Linked DNA regions of Homo sapiens: regions 2, 3, 4 and 5 are each linked to region 1. Evidence: promoter capture Hi-C in human tissues and cell types (Jung and others, 2019). All regions are on one chromosome and are shown on one strand. The core of a region is centred on a gene start or on the middle of the fragment in contact, and the rest is flanking DNA. Distances in the headings are between cores, read along the strand shown. Region 1 holds the start of LAT2 (linker for activation of T cells family member 2). Region 2 has its middle 12 kb from the start of GTF2IRD1. Region 3 has its middle 32 kb from the start of GTF2IRD1. Region 4 overlaps CLIP2 (CAP-Gly domain containing linker protein 2). Region 5 overlaps ELN (elastin).

The links. Contacts are between HindIII fragments. The study calls those that stand out against the background at their distance.
Region 2: a fragment that was not itself captured here is called in contact with the fragment with the promoter of LAT2 in region 1 in 1 of the 25 tissues and cell types used here (lymphoblastoid cells).
Region 3: a fragment that was not itself captured here is called in contact with the fragment with the promoter of LAT2 in region 1 in 9 of the 25 tissues and cell types used here (IMR-90 fibroblasts, aorta, bladder and 6 more).
Region 4: a contact is called between a fragment that was not itself captured here and the fragment with the promoter of LAT2 in region 1, in 11 of the 25 tissues and cell types used here (IMR-90 fibroblasts, bladder, dorsolateral prefrontal cortex and 8 more).
Region 5: a contact is called between a fragment that was not itself captured here and the fragment with the promoter of LAT2 in region 1, in 2 of the 25 tissues and cell types used here (mesenchymal stem cells and spleen).

What each region holds. Positions count from the first base shown.
Region 1 is chr7:74,208,732-74,211,307 of GRCh38, reverse strand. It overlaps LAT2 (linker for activation of T cells family member 2), which reads right to left and starts at 1,302. Exons shown (of 14, transcript NM_032464.3): 1 at 1,220-1,302. RefSeq lists silencers at 179-268, 1,379-1,428 and enhancers at 369-488, 1,709-1,818. The HindIII fragment of the contact is 33,709 bases long and covers 1-2,576 here.
Region 2 is chr7:74,440,384-74,442,959 of GRCh38, reverse strand. No RefSeq gene overlaps it. Among named protein-coding and RNA genes, the nearest start is that of GTF2IRD1, 12 kb to the left of the region's middle. The HindIII fragment of the contact is 3,945 bases long and covers 1-2,576 here.
Region 3 is chr7:74,420,294-74,422,869 of GRCh38, reverse strand. No RefSeq gene overlaps it. Among named protein-coding and RNA genes, the nearest start is that of GTF2IRD1, 32 kb to the left of the region's middle. The HindIII fragment of the contact is 8,329 bases long and covers 1-2,576 here.
Region 4 is chr7:74,399,747-74,402,322 of GRCh38, reverse strand. CLIP2 (CAP-Gly domain containing linker protein 2) reads right to left here. Exons shown (of 17, transcript NM_003388.5): 15 at 1,768-1,953; 16 at 756-818. Among named protein-coding and RNA genes, the nearest start is that of GTF2IRD1, 53 kb to the left of the region's middle. The HindIII fragment of the contact is 5,500 bases long and covers 1-2,576 here.
Region 5 is chr7:74,039,799-74,042,374 of GRCh38, reverse strand. It overlaps ELN (elastin), which reads right to left. Exons shown (of 33, transcript NM_000501.4): 5 at 1,124-1,159. Among named protein-coding and RNA genes, the nearest start is that of ELN, 13 kb to the right of the region's middle. The HindIII fragment of the contact is 4,659 bases long and covers 1-2,576 here.

The DNA of each region.
Region 1 (2,576 bases), core at 53-2,552:
GAGACTCCGTTTAAAAAAATTCTGTGCTCTCTCTCTGTCTCTGTCTCCCTTTGTGTCTCTGTCTCGCTCTCACTTTCACTCTCCCATCCAGGTTCTGAAAGCAGGTGGGCTGAGGTGGAGGGAGCGGAGGGTGGACCCTCTGAGGCCCCCAGGGGCCGGCAGGGCTGGGCGGGGTGGGGAGTGGGGGCTGCCACAGACCACGGTTCTGCAGAGGCCAAAATAGCACTAAAGGGAAGTGGGCAGTTTTCATATGAACAACGATTGCCAAGAGCTGGCTTCGGGGAAGTTCTCGGGGCTGGGCTGGAGGAGCTACAGTGTCTGAATCCCGCCTGGAAGGACGCTCGAGACCACCCTGCCGGTTCTCCCAGCCTTCTCCGAGCTGAGCTGTGGTTGGGGACACTGGGGTTGGGGAGGGGGCAGCCTGGCTTGAAGCCCTGGATGGCTTTATCCACTGGACTCTGCTCTGGGGTCTGTTGGTTTTTTCATTTAGTTTTTAATTATATTTTTTTATTTTTATTTTTTAAAGAGATGGGAGTCTCACTATGTTGCTCAGGCTGGTCTCCAGCTCCTGACTTCAAATGATCCTCCCGCCTTGGCCTCCCCAAATGCTGGGATTACAGGTTGAGCCACCGTGCCCGGCTGGTCCTGTTGCTTTTTCCAAATAACTCTGGGCTTCAAATGAGCCTAGCTGGGAGGGAGAGAGGGAGGCGGGCGGGTGCAGGAGGGGCCTGAGCAGCCCTGGTCCCAGGGACAGAGTTGAGGGCCAGGTAGGGGGCTGGGCAGGGAGGCAGTGGGGGTTCTTCACCTGACCTGGGGCAAGACCTGGGCCCTGGCCTGTAATCCCACCGTTTTCCCCTGACCTGTGTAGGGGGTTACAGTCCCATTTCACGGATGAGGAAACCGAGGCTCCCAGGCCAGGGCAGCCACTGTTTTGGCTCTCGGCCACTTACTTCACCAGTCTCTGGCAATGATGGGACCACCCTGGGATGTCCCAAGGCTACACAGGCTGGACAGGGGAAGGCGAGGGCAAGAGAGTGGCCAGAAGCCCAGAAACAAACTGACCCCTGAAGTGCCACAGAGCCTGGTGCCAGGGTGAGAGTGGGGCTGCGGGAGGGGGCGCCAGGCATCCAGGCCTCTTCCCACCCCACCCAGTGGGGCCAGGAGCTCCTGGGGGATGGGGGACAGCCTGAGGACTGAGGCACCCCTGGGAAAGGCTTACCTGAGAGTCCAGGGTTCCTCACCACGGCCGCCCCATCCTGAGCCCGCACACCTGCCCAAGCTGATGCCAACACCACTGACACTGGCGGGCGGGCAGGGCGGGCTTCCTGCCAGCCACTGAATCATCCGTACATCCGCCGCACTGCCGGACAGGCTCAGCTATGAAGAGGGCGGTGGGGGGAAGGGAGGGGAGACGGGGGAAGGAGGCGGGAGAGAGAGAGAGAAGAGAAACAAAGTGAGAGGGAGAAAGAGAAGAAAGAGAGATAGGACCGGGCGAGGTGGCTCACACCTGTAATCCAAAAACTTTGGGAGGCCGAGGCGGGTGGATCACGTAAGGTCAAGAGTTTAAGACCAGCCTGGCCAACATGGTGAAACCCCGTCTCTATTAAAAATACAAAATTAGCTGGGCATGGTGGCATGTGTCTGTAATTCCAGCTACTCGGGAGGCTGAGGCAGGAGAATCGTTTGAACCTCAGAAGCAGAGGTTGCAGTGAGCCGAGATCGCACCACTGCACTCCAGCCTGGGTGACAGAGGGAGACTCCGTCTCAAAAAACAGAAAGAAAAAGAGAGAGACACAGCAGAGAGACACAAGAGAACAGGAAAATATGGACACACACTAAACACACACATAAACACAAAAAGTCACACAGAGAGGAAGAGAGATACACTCCAATAGACAGGGAGCAAGATAATGAAACTGAGGTGCTCCTGCAGATGGCAGATATGGAGACACACATACGCTAAAAAGACACACACAGGCAGAAATTCACACCCATGGGCCGGGCGCGGTGGCTCATGCCTGTAATCCCAGCACTTTGGGAGGCCAAGGCAGGCAGGTCATGAAGTCAGGGGTTCAAAACCAGCCTGACCAACATGGTGAAACCCCATATCTACCAAAAATACAAAAATTATCTGGGTGTGGTGGCGGGTGCCTGTAATCCCAGCTACTCGGGAGGCTGAGGCAGGAGAATTGCTTGAACCCAGGAGGTGGAGGTTGCAGTGAGCCAAGATAGCGCCACTGCACTCCAGCCTGGGTGACAGAGCAAGACTTCATCTCAAAAAAAAAAAAAAAAAGAAGAAGACACACACAGGCAGAAATTCATACCCATGGGCCAGGCACGGTGGCTCATGCCTGTAATCCCAACACTTTGGGAGGCTGAAGCAGGAGAATCACCTGAGGTCTGGAGTTCAAGACCAGCCTGGCCAACATGGTGAAACCCCATCTCTACAAAAAATTTAAAAATTAGCTGGGCATGAGATGGACCAAGACACACACAGAGAGACACACAGAAAGATACAGAGAGCCACAGACTGTCAGAGACACACACAGATGGGGAGAGAGCAAGAAACAGGGAGA
Region 2 (2,576 bases), core at 22-2,521, 230 kb before region 1:
AAATAAATAAATAAAATAAAGTAATTTAAAAAAGAAATTTTTTTATTTTTTTTATTTTTTTTTAGAGATGAGGTCTTGCTTTATTGCCCAGGCTGGTCTCAAACTCTTGGGCTCAAGCAATCCTCGCAATCACAGCTCACAGCAGCCTCAACCTTCCAGGCTAAAGCCATCCTCCCACCCCAGTCCCCTGAGCAGCTGAGACCACATGCATGCCATCACGCCCAGCTAATTTTTGTATTTTTTGTAGTGATGGGGTCTCGCTATGTTGCCCAAGTTGGTCTTGACCTCCTGGCCTCAAGCAATCCTCCTGCCTTGGCCTCCCAAAGTGCTGGGATTACAGGCGTGAGCCACAGTGCCCAGCCAGCCCAGGCTGGTCTTGACCTCCTAGACTCAAGTGATCCTCCCTCCTTGGCCTCCCAAAGTCCTGGGATTGCAGGCATGAGCCAACCGTGCTTGGCCAGACACCCTTGTTTTTTTTTTTTGTTTGTTTTTTTTTTTTTTTTTTTTTTTGAGACAGAGTCTCACTCTGTTGCCCAGGCTGGAGTGCAGTGGCACGATCTCGACTCTCTGCAACCTTTGCCTCCTGGGTTCAAGCGATTCTCCTGCCTCAGCCTCCAGAGTAGCTGGGACTACAGGCACACACCACCATGCCCTGCTAATTTTTGTATTTTTAGTAAAGACAGGGTTTCACCATATTGGCCAGGCTGGTCTCCAACTCCTGACCTCAAATGATCCACCCGCCTCGACCTCCCAAAGTGCTGGGATTACAGGCATGAGCCACTGCACCTGGCTACTCCCCTGTTTTATAGCTGGGGACACTGAGTCTTAGAGAGACTCGCCGAGACTCACAGAGCAGCAAGTGGTGGGGCAGGAATCTGTCCAGGGCCCGTCTGTGGCAACTTCCCAGCCTTCCTGGGACAGGATGGAGCCCGACGGGGCCCCCAGTCCCTGACATGCTGCATTATTCATAAACCCGACATTCCCCCAGGGGTAAACATTCAGAAGGAGCGTTTCAAATCCACTTTCCTGCTCTGAAAATAAATAAATGAGCAGAGAATGCAGGCTCACATGGAGGCGGTGGGGCCATGACTTCTCAGAGCCCCGGGAAAGCTCGCAGATGACCTGTTTCTGATCCCTCAGCTGAGGCCCCCAGCCCAGGGACAGCCTACCCCCTACCCTCCCAGGTGACCCTGGCCCTGAGGACTTAGCCCAACCTGGGGATCCTCCAGGAACTAGGAAGCTGGTCAGGACTACAGGGACCACCTCAGCTCCTCGCAGGGGTGGACAGACACTTAAGTGGTGTTTGTGTGGCTTAAAATGTTTTTTAGAGACAGAATCTCACTCCGTCACCCCAGCTGAAATGCAGTGGCGAAATCATAGATCACTGCAGCCTCAAACTCCTGGGCTCAAGTGATCTTCCCGCCTCAGCCTCCTGAGTAGCTTGTACTACAGGCATGCATCCCCACGCCTGGCTAATTTACAAATTTTTTTAGGGACAGGGTCTGGCTATGTTGCCCAGGCTGGTCTTGAAGTCCTGGCCTCAAGTGATCCTCTTGTCTCAGCCTCCCAAAGTGTTGAGATTACAGGCATGAGCCACTGCTTCCAATCCAAAAAATAAAATTTTTTGAGATAGGGTCTCAATTCGGGTACCTAGTGGAGTGTAGTGGTGCGATCACAGCTCACTGCAGCCTCAAACTCTCAGGCTTAAGCCATCCTCCCACCCCAATCTCCTGAGCAGCCAGGACCATATGCACACCACCATGACCAGCTTTTTGTATTTTTTGCAGAGATGGGGGTCTCACCATGTTGCCCAGGCTGGTCTTGAACTCCTGGCCTCAAGCAATCCTCCTGCCTTGGCCTCCCAAAATGCTGGGATTGCGGGCATAAGCCACCATGCCTGGTCAAAACAAAATTTTTTTTAAAGAGGCACAAGGCTCCCGTCTCTATGATCTGGAAGTTGTCCCCATAGCCCCGCTGTCCCTGAGCTGCCTGCCTCTCTCCACCAGCCCCTTGAGAGGTGCATGTGACAGAGAAGGCCTCTGCAGTGACATAACTAGAGTGTAGAAGGGGACTCCTGAGAAAAGGAAAAAGGAAAGTTTTGGGGGAGGGACCTTGGGAATGCCCAGGCAGTCATGGGACCAGAGGGTGCATCAAAGATGAAAGTGTTAATTTAGGCCAAGCGCGGTGGCTCATGCCTGTAATCCCAGCACTTTGGGAGGCCAAGGTGGGCAGATCACCTGAGGTCAGGAGCACGACCTGGCCCCTGCCCCAGACCCCTGTATCTTAAGTGGCCCAGGGGGAAAGCATTCCAGGAACCTGAGAGGACAGACATAGCGGATGTCTAGATCTCAGCCTGGGGACCTGCTGAGCCAGGGCTTAGGGGTTAGGCAGACTGTGCTCCAGGGTCAAACTGGAAGCTCAAGTGCAGATACACTCAGCTCACCAAGTCTCAGTGGAGTGGACCTGCCCCCACTGGTCAGCTCATCAGGCTTAGCACCCCACTACAGTATCTGCCTAGAGCAGGGCCTCTTTTCTCTCCTTCCTTCCTTCCTTCTTTCTTTCTTTCTCTTTCTTTC
Region 3 (2,576 bases), core at 38-2,537, 210 kb before region 1:
CTGAGGTGGGTGGATCACGAGGTCAAGAGATCAAGACCGTCCTAGCCAACATGGTGAAACCCTGTCTCTACTAAAAATGTGAAAATTAGATGGGCGTGGTGGCGTGCACCTGTAGTCCCAGCTACTCGGGAGGCTGAGGCAGAAGAGTCGCTTGAACCTGAGAGTCGGAGGTCGCAGTGAGCCAAGACTGCGCCACTGCACTCCAGCCTGACAACAGAGCCCACCTTGGCCTGTTATACATATAACTTTTTTTTTCATAGAGACCAGGGTCTTGCTATGTCTCCCAGGCTGGCTTTGAACTCCTGGGCTCAAACAATCCTCCCACCTCAGCCTCCCAAAACACTGGGATTACAGGCATGAGCCACAGCACCTGGCCAAAAAATTTAAAAATTAGCTGTGTGTGGTGGTGTGTGCTTGTAGTCCCAGCTACTCAAGAGGCTGAGGCAGGAGGATCGCTTAAGCCCGGGAGGTCGAGGCTGCAGAGTGATGATTACACCACAGTACTCAAGCCTGGCGACAGAGTGAGAGCCTGTCTCTAAAAAAAAACAAAAACAACAACAACAACACACAAACAGGGGTGGCCACATAGAGTTTTGTGAGGATTGAATGAATGCCTGGAAGATTAAAAAGTAATCACTGAGAAAAAAAAGGACTTTCAGGCTCAGGATATGAAAGAGCCAGGCCAAGCATGGTGGCTCACGGCTGTAATCCCAGCACTTTGGGAGGCCAAGGAGGGCGGATCACTTGAGGTCAGGAGTTGGAGCCCAGCCTGGCCAACATGGTGAAACCCCACCTCTACTAACAATACAAAAATCAGCTGGGCGTGGTGGCGCATGCCTGTATTCTCAGCTATGTGGGAGGCTGAGGCAGGAGAATTGCTTGAACCCAGGAGGCAGAGGTTGCAGTGAGCCAAGATCACTCCACTGCACTCCAGCATGGGCGATGGAGTGAGACTGTGTCTCAAAAAAAAAAAAAAAAAAAAAGCCAGCAAAGATTTAAAATCAAGAGTTTTCTTTATAATCATGAAAAATAGTTCAGATAAAAGAAATTAAAAGACTAGCAGCACCAATAAGATGAATACCTTATAAATGAGAGGGCTAATGTGTATTACAAAGTTAAAATCAGCAAATACAAAATTAAAATGAAAAGCTATGAAGTTGGTCTTAAAAGTTACTCTCCACAAGAGATAAAAGTTAAGAGGTTTAAAATAATGATAAAGTGACAAAATAAATGTGATTTAAGAAGATAGATGATCAATGCCTCAGGTCTGGGATTAAAAGATTAAAAATACAAACATTAAAGACGTAAGTCTGAGAAGATGGAGATGACCACCCAGGAGACAGAGAGACGGTGCAGAGAAGGGGACCGCAGATGAAGAACTGGCATTAGGGAGAAAGAATATCTTGTTTCTTTTCTTTTCTTCTTTTTTCTTTAAGAAGATACTGGGGGTCAGGCAGGGCGTGATGGCTCGTGCCTGTAATCCCAGCACTTTGGGAGGCCGAGACAGGGGGATCACGAGGTCAAGGGATTGAGACCATCTTGGCCAACATGGTGAAACCCTGTCTCTACTAAAAATACAAAAAAATTAGCTGGGTGTGGTGGCGCACACCTGTAGTCCCAGCTACTCAGGAGGCTGAGGCAGGAGAATCAGTTGATCTCAGGAGGCAGAGGTTGCAGTGAGCCGAGGGCCAAGGTCACGCCACTGCACTCCAGCCTGGCGACAGAGCAAGACTCTGTCCAAAAAATCCCCAAAAAGATACAGTGTCTCACTATGTTGCCCAGACTGATCTCCAGCTCCTGGGCTCAAGTGAGCCTCCTGCTTCAGCCTCCCAGAGTGCTAGGATTACAGGCATGAGCCACCGCACCTGGCCCATATTTATTTTCTGAACAAGAGATAAACTTTCAAGTAAAGAGGACTGAAATAAAAGAAAGAAAGAAGGAAGGAAAGAAAGAACAAACGAAAGAAAGAAAGAAAGAAAGAAAGAAAGAAAGAAAGAAAGAAAGAAAGAAAGAAAAACAGCTTTATTTATTTATTTATTATTTATTTATTTGAGACAGGGTCTCGCTCTGTCATCCAGGCTGGAGGGCAGTGGCATGATCATGGCTCACTGCAGCCTCGGCCTCCTGGACTCAGGTGATCCTCCCACGTCAGCCTCCCCAGTAGCTGGGATTACAGACATGTGCCGCCATGCCTGGGGTTTCACCATGTTGCCCAGGCTGGTCTCGAACTCCTAAGCTCAAGCAATCCTCCCGCCTCGACCTCCCAAAGTGCCAGATTACAGGTGTGAGCCACCATGTCCAGTACAGAAAAGTTGTTTTAAAGAAAACAATTCTGGGTGGATCACCTGAGGTTAGGAGTTGAGACCAGCCTAACCAACATGGTGAAACCCTGACTCTACTAAAAATACAAAATTAGCTGGGCGTGGTGGCGCATGCCTGTAATCCCAGCTACTTGGGAGGCTGAGGCAGGAGAATCGCTTGAACACGGGAAGCAGAGGTTGCAGTGAACAGAGATTGCGCCACTGCACTCCAGCTTGGGTGACAGAGCGGGACTCCACTTCAAAATAAAGAAGGAA
Region 4 (2,576 bases), core at 27-2,526, 190 kb before region 1:
AGTCTCGCTCTGTCGCCCAGGCTGGAGTCCAGTGGCGCGATCTCGGCTCATTGCAAGCTCCGCCTTCCGGGTTCATGCCATTATCCTGCCTCAGCCTCCAGAGTAGCTGGAACTACAGGTGCCCGCCACCACGCCCAGCTAATTTTTTTTTGTATTTTTAGTAGAGATGGGGTTTCACCGTGGTAGCCAGGATGGTCTTGATCTCCTGACCTTGTGATCCGCCCGCCAGATGGAGTTTCACCATATTGGCCAGGCTGGTCTCAAATTCCTGACCTCAAGTGACCCACCGGCCTCGGCCTCCCAAAGTGTTGGGATTACAGACATGAGCCACTGTGCCCAGCCTTTTTAAAATTTTTTTTTTTTAATAGAGAGAGGGTCTCGCTATATTGTCCACCCTACCCGGCTAATTTTGTATTTTCAGTAGAGACGGAGTTTTACCATATTGGCCAGGCTGGTCTCAAACTCCTGGGCTCAAATGATCCTCCTGCCTTGGCCTCCCAAAGTGCTGGGGTTACAGGCGTGGGCCACTGCGCCCAACCTATAACTTTTTTAAGAAGGGAAGAAAACACAAATCAAAAAGAGCAGGGTGAATCTGGAATCAAGTTTGCCTGCAACAGCACCCTCCCTGAGGGACCCTACTGTAAAGCTTCTTGCAGAATGCATCTTTGTGTGTATTCTTAGTGACGTTTCAAGGATTTTCTCCAGAGAGGTCTGCCTGCACGGGAGGGACCTGGGAGGCCCGAGGCGCCCCTCACCTCTTGTTTCTGAGCTTTGTCCTGCTGGTGGATGCCGTTTGCAGAACCGGAATTGCCGATGGTCTGGAAGAGTTAGGGGAGACACTGAGCCAGGTGCACCAGGCAGCAGTTCCCGATTTTCCCACTAGATGGCGAGGTCTTCCCATGGGACCGTCTCAGGCTCCAAATTCCAACCCCTTCAGCCTGGGGCTCCCAGCACCCCCAAAGACCAAGCCTCTAGGGGTAAGGCTGCATCTTCCTTCTTAGTCTAAGCTCCTCAGGGCAAAGCCATGTGCCCCTTGAACTGGGGGTTCCAGAGGGCAGGGCTCCCTCCCCTTTCAGCTGGGTTCCCAGGACAGAGCTGCCTCCCGCTTTAGATCAGGGTTCCTGGGCCAGGGCTGCCTCCCATTTCTGATGGAGGTTCCTGGGACAGCGCCACCTCCCCCTTCAGACCAGGGTTCCCGGGACAGAGCTGCCTCCCCCTTCAGACCAGGGTTCCGGGACAGAGCTGCCTCCCTCTTCAGATCAAGGTTCCCGGGACAGAGATGCCTTCCCTTTCAGACTAGGGTTCCCAGGACAGAGCTGCCTCTCCCTTCAGATCAAGGTTCCTAGGACAGAAATGCCTCCCCCTTCAGACTAGGGTTCCCGGGACAGAGCTACCTCCCCCTTCAGACCGGGGGCTTCTGGGACAGAGCTGCCTCCCCCTTCACATCAGGGTTCCTGGGACAGAGCTGCCTCCCCCTTCAGACCAGGGGTTCCCGGGACAGAGCTACCTCCCCATTCAGACCCGGGTTCCTGAGACAGGGCTGCCTCCCCCTTCAGACTGGGGTTCCCAGGACAGAGCTGCCTCCTTCTTCAAACCAGGGTTTCTGGGACAGGGCTACCTCCCCCTTCAGACCAGGTTCCTGGGACGAGCTCCCTACCTCCTCAGACTGGGGTTTTAAAGACAAGGCTGCCTCCCGCATCAGACGGGGGCTCCGAGGACACTGCCCCGTGGCTTGCCTCCTGGTGGGCCCTGTCAGCCGCGGCTCACCTGGGCCTTGTCAGGGCAGCTCCTCATGGCCTCCATCAGCTTCTCCACCTGCTGAGCCTGGTCCAGCGCATCCCGCAGGGCGTCCTCCGTGCTCATCAGCTGGTGCTGCAGCCGCAGAAGCTCGGGCGCCGAGGACCGGTCGATGAGGGAGTAGCGCCTCTGATCCGACAGGGATTTCTCTTTGTCCTGGAAGTGGCAGGAGAGTGGAAGAGTACATGAGTGTGCGTGTGTGTGTTGGTGGGCGTCTCAACTCTAGGCAGGAAAGTCTTCCAGCCTCACTTTGTCTCTGGGTTCCAAGCCTGGGCATCACCCAGAGGTCCCTCAGGCCTCTGTGAGGTGCTCCATGGTCTCCAAGTGGGGAACCCAGGACCCCATCCCTCTTGACTTTTTTTTTTTTTTTTTTTTTGAGACAGAGTCTCGCTCTATCACCTAGGCTGGAGTGCAGTGGCGCGATCTTGGGTCTCTGCAAGCTCCGCCTCCCGGGTTCATGCCATTCTCCTGCCTCAGCCTCCTGAGTAGCTGGGAGGGGCCCACCACCACGCCCCGCTAATTTTTTCCTATTTTTAGTAGAGACGTGGTTTCACCGTGTTAGCCAGGATGGTCTCAATCTCCTGACCTCGTGATCCACCCGCCTCGGCTTCCCAAAGTGCTGGGATTACAGGCATGAGCCACTGCGCCCAGCCTTGCCTTTAAAAATAATTAAAAAAAGAGACAGAGACCGAGCCTGGTGGCTCACGCCTGTAATCCCAGCACTTTGGGAGGCCGAGGCAGGCAGATCACCTGAGGTCAGGAGTTCGAGACCAGCCTGG
Region 5 (2,576 bases), core at 54-2,553, 170 kb after region 1:
CTCACTGCAGCCTCAACCACCCAGGCTCAAGCAATCCTCCCGCCTCAGCCTTCCAAGTAGGTGGAACTACAGGTGCATGCCACTGTGCCCGGCAAATTTTTTTTTTTTTGTATTTTTTGTAGTGACAAGATTTTACCATGTTGCCCAGGCTGGTCTCGAACTCCTGGGCTCAAGCCATCTGCCCGTCTCAGCCTCCCAAAGTGCTAGGATTACAGGCGTGAGCCACCGCGCCTAAGTACCAGAACTAGATTGTGTGCCGAGGTTAATGTGTTAGACAGCTCTGACAAAACTGCATGGCTCTTTTTTTTTTTTTCCCTTTAGAGATGGGGTCTTGTGGCTGGGCACGGTGGCTTGAGCCTGTCATCCCAGCACTTTGGGAGGCCGAGGTGAGTGGATCACTTGAGGCCAGGAGTTCGAGACCAGCCTGGCCAACATGGTGAAACCCCGTCTCTACTAAGAATACAAAAATTAGCCGAGCGTGGTGGTGCACACTGGTAATTCCAGCTATTTGGGAGGCTGAGACACAAGAATCACTTGAACCGGGGAGGTGGAGGTTGTGGTGAGCTGAGATCAACTGCACCAGGTGCGGGGAGCTGAGACTGAGCCACTGCACTCCAGCCTGGGTGACAGAGTGGGACTCTGTCTCAACAACAACAAGAACAACAAAAGAGATGAGGTCTTTCTCTGTCGCCCAGGCTGGAGTGCAGTGACATGATCATAGCTCTCTGAAGCCTCAGCCTCCTGGGCTCAAGGGATCCTCTCACTTCAGCCTTCCTGAAAACTGCATGGATCTTTTGGGGTCAAATTTCCCCACCCACCTCCTCTAGAATGCCTTCCTGAACCCCTGCTGAGTTAAGCGACTCCCTTGGGCTTCCTTGGTCCATGGGGCTTCCTCCATGCAGCCTTCACTACTATGTTATAAAGGAACCCAGGTACTCAGCTGTGATTTCCTCATGTCCTGGGCAGCTGCTTGGGGCAGTTGGTATCAGCATCAGTCCCCGTCAGTGCCCAGGACGGAACCTGGCCTGCACCCTTGTTCCATGACCGTGCTGCATACCAGCCCTGGGTTGAGCTCAGGGGCTGGTCCCCACAGGGGATATCTTTCTTGGGTGTCAGCACTCACCTGCCCCAAGGCCAGCACCCGCAAGCCCTCCGGGAACTGTGGATAAGAAACAGAGACAGGAGTGTAGGCAGTGTTCCTAGGCCCAGAGTGGGAAATGTCTCCTGGAGTTAGGGCAGTGCTGTGATCAGCCACTCAGGTCCCTAGGCTGGTCCCTAAGCCTGTGATGCTCAGGGTCGATCCTGATAAAATAGCATCCACCAGTAGTTTAGTGAGCGACTACTATGTGCAGTGCAGGTGTCATTGCACCGATCCCTAACAAGCCTGGGCCAGGCCTGTGCTTCTCCTAGAAGCCCTGCTGGCTAACAAGATTCAGCAGGGCTTTCAGCAAGGGCTGGGACAGAGCAGAGTCCGTGAGCGAGACCTCACCCCAGGCCAGTGAGGTCTCTCTTCTGCTTCCTTGCAGATATCTCTTGACTCAGTCCCCTCCCCTTCACCTGCATCGGGGAACTCCTGTGTCCCCACTACCCATCTGTCCTTCCATCCAGCCTGCCCTGCAGCCCAGGAGCCTCCTACTAAGATGTTTATGAGACGCCAAATGGGTCCCTCTGGCTCTCTCCTCCCCACATCTGGGCCCAATCGCTTCGTCTCCCACTGCGGGAGACATTCCACTGCCTTGGCCAGGACCAATGGGCCATCAGGTCAGAGTTCACAACCATGCCAGGTTTGTTTCTAATTATGTGACGATCTCTCCTACAAGTGCTAGTCCTGAGCCTCAGGGGTGAGTCCTCTCCAGGGATGGATCCCAAACATGGAGCCTGCTGTACCCTGGAGAGGTCCCCCCTGGCTTTCCCTGGGTGTGGTCTCCGTTACTAACCACTCCTCGTCCCTCATTTCCTACTAGTGGGAGCTGGACCCCTCTGAAACTCAGCCAGCCTCATGTAAGAAGCATCTTTGCCTCCGGGCGGGAGTGCCTGGCGATCAGGCAGGAGTCACTTCCCAGCACCCGGGCCAGACCCACCTGCGCTGGCAGTCGCTTCTCTCAAGCCAGGCATGTTTCCTGAGCTCTGAGAGGGCAAGGGACATGCTCAGACCTTTCCTGTCCACAGAGGGGCTGGGAGGGGAAGCTGAGGACTGCACAGGAAGTGAGAAGAGGCTGGGGCTGCAGTGGGGGGCAGGCAGCTTCTCTGGGGCCATCTTCCTTTTTCCCATGATCCCAGCCTGAGCATCCTGTCATGTGGCCTGACCACTTCTGTCTCTGCCTGCCCTCCTTCCTTTGCACTCACCTGCCCCAAATGCCCCAAGGATTCTAGCATCTGGAAAGGAGGAGAAAGCGGGGAGGGGCTGACCACAGCTGGGAGTCCAGGGACCTGGCCAGCTCCATCCTCCTTCTTTCTAGAGTCAGAGAGTTCTAGATTCAGACCCTGCTGCTGCTACCCAGCCTCCATGAGCACAAGCAGGTCAATTTGCCTCTCCGATGAGGCTTAGTTTTTGCCATCTACAAAATGGCCATTAT